Linked DNA regions of Homo sapiens: regions 1 and 2 are each linked to region 3. Evidence: promoter capture Hi-C in human tissues and cell types (Jung and others, 2019). All regions are on one chromosome and are shown on one strand. Each heading gives the region's core, a stretch centred on a gene start or on the middle of the fragment in contact. The rest is flanking DNA. Distances are from core to core; before and after follow the strand shown. Region 1 has its middle 75 kb from the start of HSPA9. Region 2 has its middle 8.5 kb from the start of EGR1. Region 3 holds the start of SPATA24 (spermatogenesis associated 24).

Region 1 (3,570 bases), core at 642-3,141, 750 kb after region 3:
TTTAGGGAGATTACCATGGCAACGAGGTAAAGGATGATGGACTAAGAGTAGGGGCACGCTAGAGGGAGACTGGTTAGGAGATGGTGGCAGAAATCCAGGTGAGAAGTGATGAGGCCCCACTCGAACCAAGGTGGTGGCTGTGTGGCTGTGGTGTAAAGAAGAGAGATGCTACAGGGGAGAATGAATGAAGGAAGGACAGGGATGTCTTTTTCAAACAACACAGCGCACATACAGGCCCCAGTGGAAGAAGCGGGGTAGAGAGTGGGAAGTGCTGGCGGCTGCGGGGGCAATAAACAATGAGGCCTGCAGGATGAGCAGCCCCTGGAAGCTGCCAGAGTTGCTCACATCCCATCTTCCTGCTCTCCCCCAGTCAGTCAGGCTGGCCCTGCCACTGGGCTCTGTGTGTGTGGGGGTGGGGGCAGGCGGTGGTGCTGGGGCTGGGGAGAAGGGAGAAGTGTCAGCCCTGGCCTCTGGGGCCACATACAGGGAGGTGAGCTATGGGGAGCATCACGGAAGCGTGATTTAGAGTCTCATTCCCACTGCCCTTCACCGTGCTGCAAGGACAGTTCAACGTAATATATAATTACCGCCGCCCCACAAGGCTGCACTGTACACAGAGCTCCCACCTTCCTCCCGCTCCCTCCTGCCTGCCTTCAGACTATAAATCAGTTTTCAATCCTGAATGCTACCTGTAAATGTTCGAGCTCAGGATCCTCGCCTCATATTCCTATGTCCCTGGGGGGTGGTTCAGGATGTGAGTGGCTTCCCCCAGTCCTGATTCTGACATCCCAGCCCCTGATTGATGGTGAGAGGAGCAGCAGGGAAGCTGGAAATGGCTCTAGGGTCTCTGGAGCCCTGGCCTGGGGAGAGGGGTGGGCAGCTCTGGATCTGCCTGACTCAGCCAAGCCTGAACTGGATGCTCCCCAGTGTACAGAACTGTGGACATGCTCCGGACCAATTGGTGGGAAGGCATTGAAACTGACCCCTCCCCGAAAATGGCAACTTCTTTCCAGCCTTGTCAGATGTGCCAGAGCAGGCAGGTGGGCACGTTCACTGGAGTGTCCAAAAGACGGCAGCCTCGCCATAGGCTGATCTGGGGATGAAGAGGCACAGCCATGCCTTTCCCCTGAGCTGGGATGGGAAATCCCATGATGCACCTTTGAGGTGATAAAAGGACAAATCAAGAAAGAAATTCTTGGCCAGGCATTGTGGCTCATGCCTGTAATCCCAGCACTTTGGGAGACCGAGGCAGGCGGATCACCTGGTGAAACCCTGTCTCTACTAAAAATACAAAAATTATCGAGGCATGGTGCCATATGCCTGTAATCCCAGCTACTTGGGAGGCTGAGGCAGGAGAATCTCCTAAAACCCAGAGGAGGAGGTTGCAGTGAGCCGAGATTGTGCCACTGCATTCCAGCCTGAGTGACAGATCAAAACTCTGTCTCAAAAAAAAAAAAAAAAACCACACACACACACACACACACACAGAAAGAAAGAAATTTTTCTTTCTTCCTTTTTTTTTTTTTCTTTTTTAGGAGACAGAGTTGCCCCGGCTGGAGTGCAGTCGTGCGAAGCTGGCTCCCTGAAGCCTCAACTGCAGGTGTGTTATGTGTCCACCATTTACTGATCACCCCATCTGAAGACGGTCCCCCGGCCCTGACCTATTACTTTCTATCTTAGCGCCCTGTTTGTTATGGTACTAGGTATAATTCATATTATTCCATATTGTCTTGTGTCTTCATTTTTTGTGGGTTTTCACTCCTGGAGTGGAAGCTCTGTGAAGGCAGGGGCCACATTGCCTGGTCAACACTGTATTCCAGTTACTTAGCATCAAGCTTCACACATCATGGTGTTAGTTAAATACTCTTTGAATGAACTGAATGCATGGAGCCGGGGTGGGGTGGCTGCCAAAGAGAAGGTCTTCAAAGCTGAGGCTGACTCTGCCTGCTCCCCTGTGGCAGCCCCATCTGCAGACAGCAGCTGGGCAGATTCCTCCTTCCCTAGGAGACCAGGCTTATGACCCCGGGGGAATTGAGAGGCCTCTCCAGACCTTGGCCTCCTTCCTCTCCCTTGGGAAAACTCCAGTTGTGACCCCTCCTAGCTGTCCCCGGAGCTGCCTTCTGAGGACCAGGGGTTAATGGTCAGTGTTTATCACCTCCCACTCCCTGACAAGATCCCCAGGTCACTGGAAAGCTTGGCCCAGCCCAAACTGATACCTTGCATGGGCCAGGGACTCAATCTGGGGACAGCAAAGAGGGACTGAGGAGGAAGCTCCTCCACGCATTATAATATCCATGAAGTGAATGCAAATGAACTGAAAGCACCTTTTGAATAAGCAGCTTTTACTGAGGGAGCTGCTCTAATCCCTAAATGGCTTTGCTGACAGGGAGGAGCTTCCCAGTGGTGGAAGGGGTGGGAAATGGGGACACACTGTCAGGAACCGGCTCTGCAGCGCCCTTGTCCCTGCACTTTTAGATTCCGGACACGCTTCTTGTGGCTAATGGAACTCGGAGATCTCTAACCTTGGCCTCCATATTCCACTCCCTGCCCCCGCCCCCAGAGTCTGCGGAGCCCAGCTTCTGTGTTTCCAGGAGGCTGAGGCTGCTGGGTGCTGGGTCTCAGTGTCGAGTGATTCTCTGGGACTGGAAGCAGCTGAGTGTGCCTCCAGTGATGTAGCCCTGTGGGCTCTCTGGTGACCATGTGAGACATCCCTGGGCCTGTGTGTAAAGGTGTGTGGCCGTGTGCACCAGTGGGTTTGTGTCCATTTACACACCTCCTGGAAACAAGTGTCATTGTGTTTGTGCCTCTGTCTGTCCCCACCCCCACATCTCCATCCATCTGTATTCCTCCCCAGGTTAGCGGGGGCTGGCCTCAGCTGGGGAATCATGCTTTTTCAAGGACTAATGACTTTTATCAGAATGATAATGAACTGATGACACAGGGAGGCCCTGGGCTCTGGAGAGAAGCCAGAGAAGGAGCAGTTGGGGACAGAGAGGAGGCTGGTAGGGTTGGGAGGCTAGAGGACTATGCCTCCCAGAAAGGCCAGCCAGCTCCATTCCTCTTTCAGTGGGGGAAGGAGACAGGGACAGAGGAAACCCAGGGGATGTTGGAAACACATTCTCCATTTCCCTTCCCTGTCCCGCCTGCCTCTTCCTGAACCTTCCATTCCCTGCTTTGCTATTCTTCTCGCCCTCCCAGAGGACTCCCCTTGACTACGGGGCTGTGAGGCTAAAGCTGGCTATTCCCCTCTCCCAGTCTCCTTCACTCTAGCCCTTACTCAAAGCCAGGTCCTGCCCAGAGATGGAGAGGGGAGCTGCTCCTAGAATTCTGAGTGGGCAGAGACACATAGGTGGCCTGAGCAGGTCTTAGAGGACCAGAAACTTGAAAGCTGCCCCTTGGGCATGAAGCTTGTCAAGGCTAATTGGCCTCAATATTCTTTCATAATGAGTGTAGGGCCAGGTGAGTTGTCAGTGGGGAAAGGAGAGGAGAATTCAGAAGCTCACAGAACATCCACACCAGGGACTTGGGAGATCACAAAACCAGGAACTGTTCTCATTGGTCAGAGAAGAT
Region 2 (3,197 bases), core at 270-2,769, 930 kb after region 3:
TGTGGATATGGTGGGAAGAAGGAGCCAGAACAGTTGGGGGGAAACTTTGGAGTAAATGTGGACACATCCACACAAGGACTTGTGCTCCAATAATCACAGCAGCTTTATCCATAATAGCGCCAAAGGAACCAGCCCAGATGTCCCTCCACAGGGGAAAGGATGAACAACTGGGGCACAGCCATATAGCAGAATGCTACTTGGCAATGAAAAGGAGTGAACTATTTGCAGTGTACACACAGCAACATCAGTGAATCCTGAACAGTGATGCTAAGTGAAGTAAGCCAGATCAAATCAAGGACATATGGAATGATTCCATATATAAGACCCTCTATCCTCTTTTTCCGGCTGGAACATGCAGGGTGTAGAAGAGAAGAAGAAGGTTCCTGCTGTGCCAGAAACCCTTAAGAAAAAGCGAAGGAGTCCGGGCGTGGTGGCTCACGCCTGTACTCCCAACACTTTGGGAGGCTAAGGCGGGCGGATCACCTGACGTTGGAAGTTTGAGAGCAGCCTGATCAATATGGAGAAACCCTTCTCTACTAAAATTACAAAATTAGCTGGGCGTGGTGGCACATGCCTGTAATCCCAGCTACTCGGGAGGCTGAGGCAGGAGAATCGCTTGAACCCGGGAGGCGGAGGTTGCAGTGAGCCAAGAGTGTGCCACTGCACTCCAGCCTGGGCAACAAGAGCGAAACTCCTTCTCAAAAAAAAAAAAAAGAAAAGAAAAAGAAAAAGAATTTCGAAGAGCTGGAAATCAAGCACCTGAGAAAGAAGTTTGCCCAAAAGATGCTTCAAAAGGCAAGGAGGAGGCCGGGCATGTTTTTTTTTTTTTCAGTTTGAGAGTAGGTACTGTTTTATTTATTTATTTATTTGTCTTTTTTTTGAGATGGAGTCTCGCTCTGTCGCCCAGGCTGGAGTGCAGTGGTGCAATCTCAGCTCACTGCAAGCCCTGCCTCCTGGGTTCACACCATTCTCCTGCCTCAGCCTCCCCAGTAGCTGGGACTACAGGCGCCCGCCACCATGCTCAGCTAATTTTTTTGTATTTTTAGTAGAGGTGGGGTTTCACCGTGTTAGGCAGGATGGTATCGAACTCCTGACTTTGTGATCTACCCGCCTCTGCCTCCCAAAGTGCTGGGATTACAGGAATGAGCCACCACGCCCAGCCAAGAGTAGGTACTGTTTATTAACTGACCACCTTAGAAAAATAATCATGGTAGACACCTTAGTTCATTCTTCTAATAAGCCTGTTGATCTGGTCCTCCCTGTTGCTAGCATCTCCACCTTCTACAAAATGGGTGGTCTTTTTCTTCATTCCGCCTCGTGGAGAAGATAATTTGAAGGGCCACAGGTAGTTATTTGCTTCTTTGAAGCATTTTCCAACAGTATAGATCTCATGAATCAGATCCTCCAGGCAGATGATGCCATATTTACCAAGAGATCAAGCAATCAAAGTGTTATGTATCAAAGCAATTCGCTTCTTATTGATTTTGCCATAACCATGCTTGTAAATTAGTTCATTTACTGACTTCAGATTTGGGTATCCCCATGCAATATATGGGTCTACAATCCTCAGCATGTTAACTGAAGCCTGTTGAGCTTCACAAAGTTTCCACTGAAGTTTGACAAAGGCAAAGAAGCTGCAACACCTTTCAGACCTTTGGGCTCACACCATTGATGCCTCTGATCCTGATGACAAACGCCAATTTGGGTTCTGCAGGTACATAGAAGTTGCCAGCTTTTCTTGCCATCCTCGCCATTCGAATTTCAGTTCTGTACATCTGCCTATATTCCTTGTGATAGTGCTTTTCTTTTTCACAGATAAGCTTCCTCCTTGCCTTTCTTTCTTTTCTTTCTTTTTTTGAGATGGAGTTTTGCTCTTGTTGCCCAAACTGGAGTGCAGTGGTGCAATCTTGGCTCACTGCAACCTCTGCCTCCGGGGTTCAAGCGATTCTCCTGCTTCAGCCTCCTGAGTAGCTGGGACTACAGGTGCCTGCCACGATGCCTGGCTAATTTTTGTATTTTTAGTAGAGACCAGATTTCACCATGTTGGCCAGGCTGGTCTTGAACTCCTGACCTCAGATGATCCACCTGCCTCGGCCCCTCAAAGTGCTGGGATTACAGTCATGAGCTACCGCACCTGGCTTAAAAAATACAAAAATAGTTTAAAAAAACTTTTTTTGAAACCAGGTCTTGCTCTGCTGCCCAAGCTGGAGTGAAGAGGCACAATCTCAGCTCACTGCAGCCTTGATGTCCCAGGCTCAAGCAATCCTCCTACCTCAGCGTCTCGAGTATCTGGAACTACAGGCATGGGCTGCCATGCCTGGTTTATTTTATTTTTTTGTAGAGACGGGGTCTCCCTATGTTGCCCAGGCTGGTCTTGAACTCCTGGGCTCAAGCAATCTCTAGCCTCAGCCTCCCAAAGTGCAGTAATTACAGGTGTGAGCCACCATACACAGCCCTCAATAGAGTTGTAATAATAATTTTTAAAACCCTAAGTGCTAAGGAGAATGGGCTTGATGGAGAGAACTCCCTGGAAAGGGAAATGAGATTTTACTTGCATCTGAGTTGCTGGGCCACCGATCTGACCTAAGAGGTCATCTGAAGTAAGCTTAGCCACAGAGGCTCTCCTAGGTCCTAGTAATGGAGATAAGGAGACTGAGAGAAAAATTACTGAAGTAGAGGGTTAGATTTGCTATTTGGGTGCAAAAATCTTATTAGCACCCAAAGGTTTCTGGGTAAAATGTTGAAATGTTATTTGCTTGACATCTGATTCTTTTAAACTTGGCCTCATTTCCCTTAGGACTCTGGGATATCCCTCTGCCCAATGGCTTCCCCTCTCCAACTGCATTAAGTGTGTCCTGAAACAGTGAAAACAGTGTGGATGCAGGGAGGGGGACTGGCAGGGAATACCTTTGACCCTATAGTACTCTTACCTGCCTCCAGTTCCATACCTGGGGGATAGGGGCGGTTCTGAATAGGGGGAAGGTGGAAGGAAACACACTGAAAACTCCAGCGTGCTGCAAATCCCGGGCCAAGCTCCGCCTTCCTGAGTGCTTGGAATCTTTCAAAACAGGTGAGAACGAGGCTGAACGTTCCTGAAATTCAAGCAAAAGAGTACCTTTCAGGTAGGAGGAGGAAGGGTCAAGGGTCTTTAGGACCTGGTTCTTTCACTTCAGAATCAAAACCTGTCCTTGTCCTTA
Region 3 (3,259 bases), core at 464-2,963:
TAGTCCCAGCTGTTCGGGAAGCTGAAGCAGGAGAATGGTGTGAACCCCGGTTGGGGCAGAGCTTGCAGTGAGCCAAGATCGCACCACTGCACTCCACCCTGGGCATCAGAGCAAGACTCCGTCTCAAAAAAAAAAAAAAAAAAAAAGAGAGAGAGGTCAGCAGAGATGGCCTTGTCTCCAAGTCCATGAAAATAAACGCAAGAAACAAAACAAGGGCTCCCGCTGAGAGAACCACAGGGATGGCCAAGTTTGTCAGGCCCCCCGGGGGGTTTTGGGGAGCGGCTTGAATGACTTACCCTGAGCTTTCTGCCTCCTTTCATAGTCACTGGTAACTTTTTTTCCAAACTCCTTGTTAGTATAGTCATTTCCTACTTGGGGGTATCAAATTCCATAACTTCCACCCATGACGTGCAACACAAATGCAGCACAACATCCTGGTTAAGAACATGAACTCCAGGCCCAGCGCGGTGGCTCATGCCTGTAATCCCAGCACTTTGGGAGGCCGAGGCAGGCGGATCACCTGAGGTCAGGAGTTCGAGACCAGCCTGGCCAACATGGTGAAACCCCGTATCTACTAAAAATAAGAAAATTAGCCAGGCGTGGTGGCGGGCGCCTGTAATCCCAGCTACTTGGGAGGCTGAGGCAGAAGAATCCCTTAAACCCGGAAGGTGAAGTTTGCAGTGAGCCGAGATCACGTCCCTGCACTCCAGCCTGGGCGACAGAGCGAGACTACATCTCAAAAAACAAACAAACAAAAACACGGACCCTGGAACCAAACTGCCCATAGCAGAACTCCGTTCCACAACTTACTAGAGTGACCTTGGGCAAGTTATTCATTCTCATTCTCATAGAGCCTAGGTAAAAAGGGGCTGATAGGAGTTCCATGAGGGTCACATGAAATAATATAAACATAACGGTGCCACGAAATAGTGAACACAATATATATTCGCTCTGATGTTCTCCAAACCTAATCTTATTTGGGTTTCCAAGAAAAAAAAAAAAGCCTTCAATAGAGACTTGGTGAGTGTGCGTAATCACCGTATCCTTCCCTGACTTCATTTTACTAAACTCTCCTCCTTCAAGCCCTCTTCAGTCCTCCTAATCTCTTCAGGGTCCTCCTCCTCGGGTGGTGGCACATGACTCTAGTGCAGACTCTAGTGCCCAGAGCCTGGTATCAGAGTATGAAGACTTTGATCTCAGGTGTAGCCATTCTCATTTTTTATCTTCGTCTATCTTCCGTGCTTAGGCTTAGGACCCCTAAGTACTAAGTGTGTTCCAGGAGGCTGGAATCTCATACAATGGAGGAAATTTGGAGATTAGGATAAAGATTTGGAGAAAGAGGCATGAGAAGCTAAAGATGCAGGAGTTGCCTATGCTGGCTCTTGCTTCGTGGTCATGCAGTTTAACAGGCCCTGGGTGAAGGCTGAGGGCTGCTGTTTTGAGTGTTGCCTGCTCGCAGGCAAGGAAAGTACAAGCCGGGCCCTGCCGGCTTCTCAGGACTGCGTGAGAAACAGAAGACGCAATAAAAGCGCAATTTCCTGTAAACTTAAATGCCTTAAGGGTTGTCAGCAGTTTCCCCGCTCCAGGCGGCTCCTTTAAGAGGCGGCCCCTCGCCCCGCTAACATAGGAAGTCCCCGCCCCCCGTTGCCAGGGTGCTCTGTGGCGTCGCATTCTCATTGGTGGGCGACGGCGAGGATCACCCCCGAGGCAGCCATTTCCAACTAGCTGGCGGGGGCGGAAGATGGCGACGCCCCTCGGGTGGTCGAAGGCGGGGTCAGGATCTGTGTGTCTCGCTTTAGATCAACTGCGGGACGTGATTGAGTCTCAGGAGGAACTAATCCACCAGCTGAGGAACGTGGTATGCAGCCAGAGGAGTTTGGGGAGAGGCGGGGCCGGATGCCTCACTGGTGGGGGCGGGGCCAGAACCTGTTCCGATGCGGGGGCCGTGGCTAGAACGCATGGCCCATGGCGTCATCAGGAGGAGGCCGGGCTCAGTCGGTAGGGGTGGAGCCAAAAAGGGGCGGACCTTCCTGAACCAGGGAATTTTAACTAAAATCAAGCCATATTCTCCCTTCCGTTTGCCTGGTTGCTGCAAGAGCTGGTAGAGAGTCCCTGAGCCTCAGTTTCCCCATTTTCAGTGGAGATGACGTCACTGAGTTCCCATGGCCCTCCTGTGCAGGCAGAGAAACTGTCATCCCTTCTATTATGGACACCATTCCCGAGAGTCAAAGGCAGTGCCGTGTTGAATGCAGTAAGCGCAGATTTGGCCCTTGCCAGCGCTAACTTAGGGGCCTCCAAGAACTTTACATGCCTTAGCTTTTGCCTTCTCAATCAAACCCCAGCTAATGGGTGCAAAGCATTGCAGTCACAGATTACCTGGGTAGGCATGATAGAATCCTGGCCATCTGGAGTTCATGGTTTTTCTGGTTTTGTTTTCCTGTCTTGATAAGAAGGTTAGGATGTATCTCCATCTCAGAAATAAAACTGGCTTCACATCTACTTCTCATTCTAAGTTGTTCTTAGACAATTTCTTCCCTTCTGGGAAGTTGAATGTGGGGGAAAGGGGAGAGAGACCTGTCCTATTTGCTACCCTAATGCTCTCATTCAACAAAATATATGGAGCTCTAGGCACTGAATTGCCTTTGATTCCCTGAAGGTACCCAGGTCTTCCTCTTGGCAGCTGACCTTGGCATGTGTGTCCCCACCATCCAGAGTGCTTTTCTCTCTATCCCTCTTCTGGCCCACCCTATATAGCAGTCAGATCTCAGGTCTAACATCCCCTTCTCCGGAAGTGATTCTGACCCTTCCCCAGGCTGGGTTGGGGCCTCCTCTGAGCCCCAGATCCCCTTATGTCTCCCCATCAAGGCACACAACATGTTAGAAGTGCTAACTGTGGACTGCCTCCTCCATGAGACTGGCTGCTCCTTGAGGGCAGCACTTAGAGCTGAGTCTCAGTTTATCTGTGGAACTGAATTCTCCCTTCCCAAGGCCTCAGTCTCATCCTAGGTACCACGAGCATCATCCTGTTATCCGCTTTTGGTCCTGGTCCCTAGAGGGCGCCCCTTCTACTCCAGCCCCAGGCCCTCCCTCAGCCAGGCTCTGTTGCAGATGGTTCTCCAGGACGAAAATTTTGTCAGTAAAGAAGAGTTCCAGGCAGTGGAGAAGAAGCTGGTGGTAAGTAATGGCCTCTGCGGTCTCCTAATCTTCCCCCGTTTCCCAGGATCCCTGTGGTTAGGCAGGCTCATTAAGTATTAGCCTC

The links. The method cuts DNA at HindIII sites, captures the fragments that hold promoters and counts their contacts. A contact is called where the count stands out against the background at its distance.
Region 1: a contact is called between a fragment that was not itself captured here and the fragment with the promoter of SPATA24 in region 3, in 1 of the 25 tissues and cell types used here (dorsolateral prefrontal cortex).
Region 2: a contact is called between a fragment that was not itself captured here and the fragment with the promoter of SPATA24 in region 3, in 1 of the 25 tissues and cell types used here (dorsolateral prefrontal cortex).

What each region holds. Positions count from the first base shown.
Region 1 is chr5:138,648,378-138,651,947 of GRCh38, reverse strand. No RefSeq gene overlaps it. Among named protein-coding and RNA genes, the nearest start is that of HSPA9, 75 kb to the right of the region's middle. RefSeq lists an enhancer at 658-1,456. The HindIII fragment of the contact is 3,444 bases long and covers 170-3,570 here.
Region 2 is chr5:138,472,384-138,475,580 of GRCh38, reverse strand. It overlaps the pseudogene RPL7P19. Among named protein-coding and RNA genes, the nearest start is that of EGR1, 8.5 kb to the right of the region's middle. The HindIII fragment of the contact is 5,437 bases long and covers 1-3,197 here.
Region 3 is chr5:139,402,543-139,405,801 of GRCh38, reverse strand. It overlaps SPATA24 (spermatogenesis associated 24), which reads left to right and starts at 1,713. Exons shown (of 6, transcript NM_194296.2): 1 at 1,713-1,858; 2 at 3,109-3,174. The coding sequence starts at 1,742. RefSeq lists enhancers at 1,203-1,775, 1,721-1,950, 1,776-2,349. The HindIII fragment of the contact is 8,558 bases long and covers 1-3,259 here.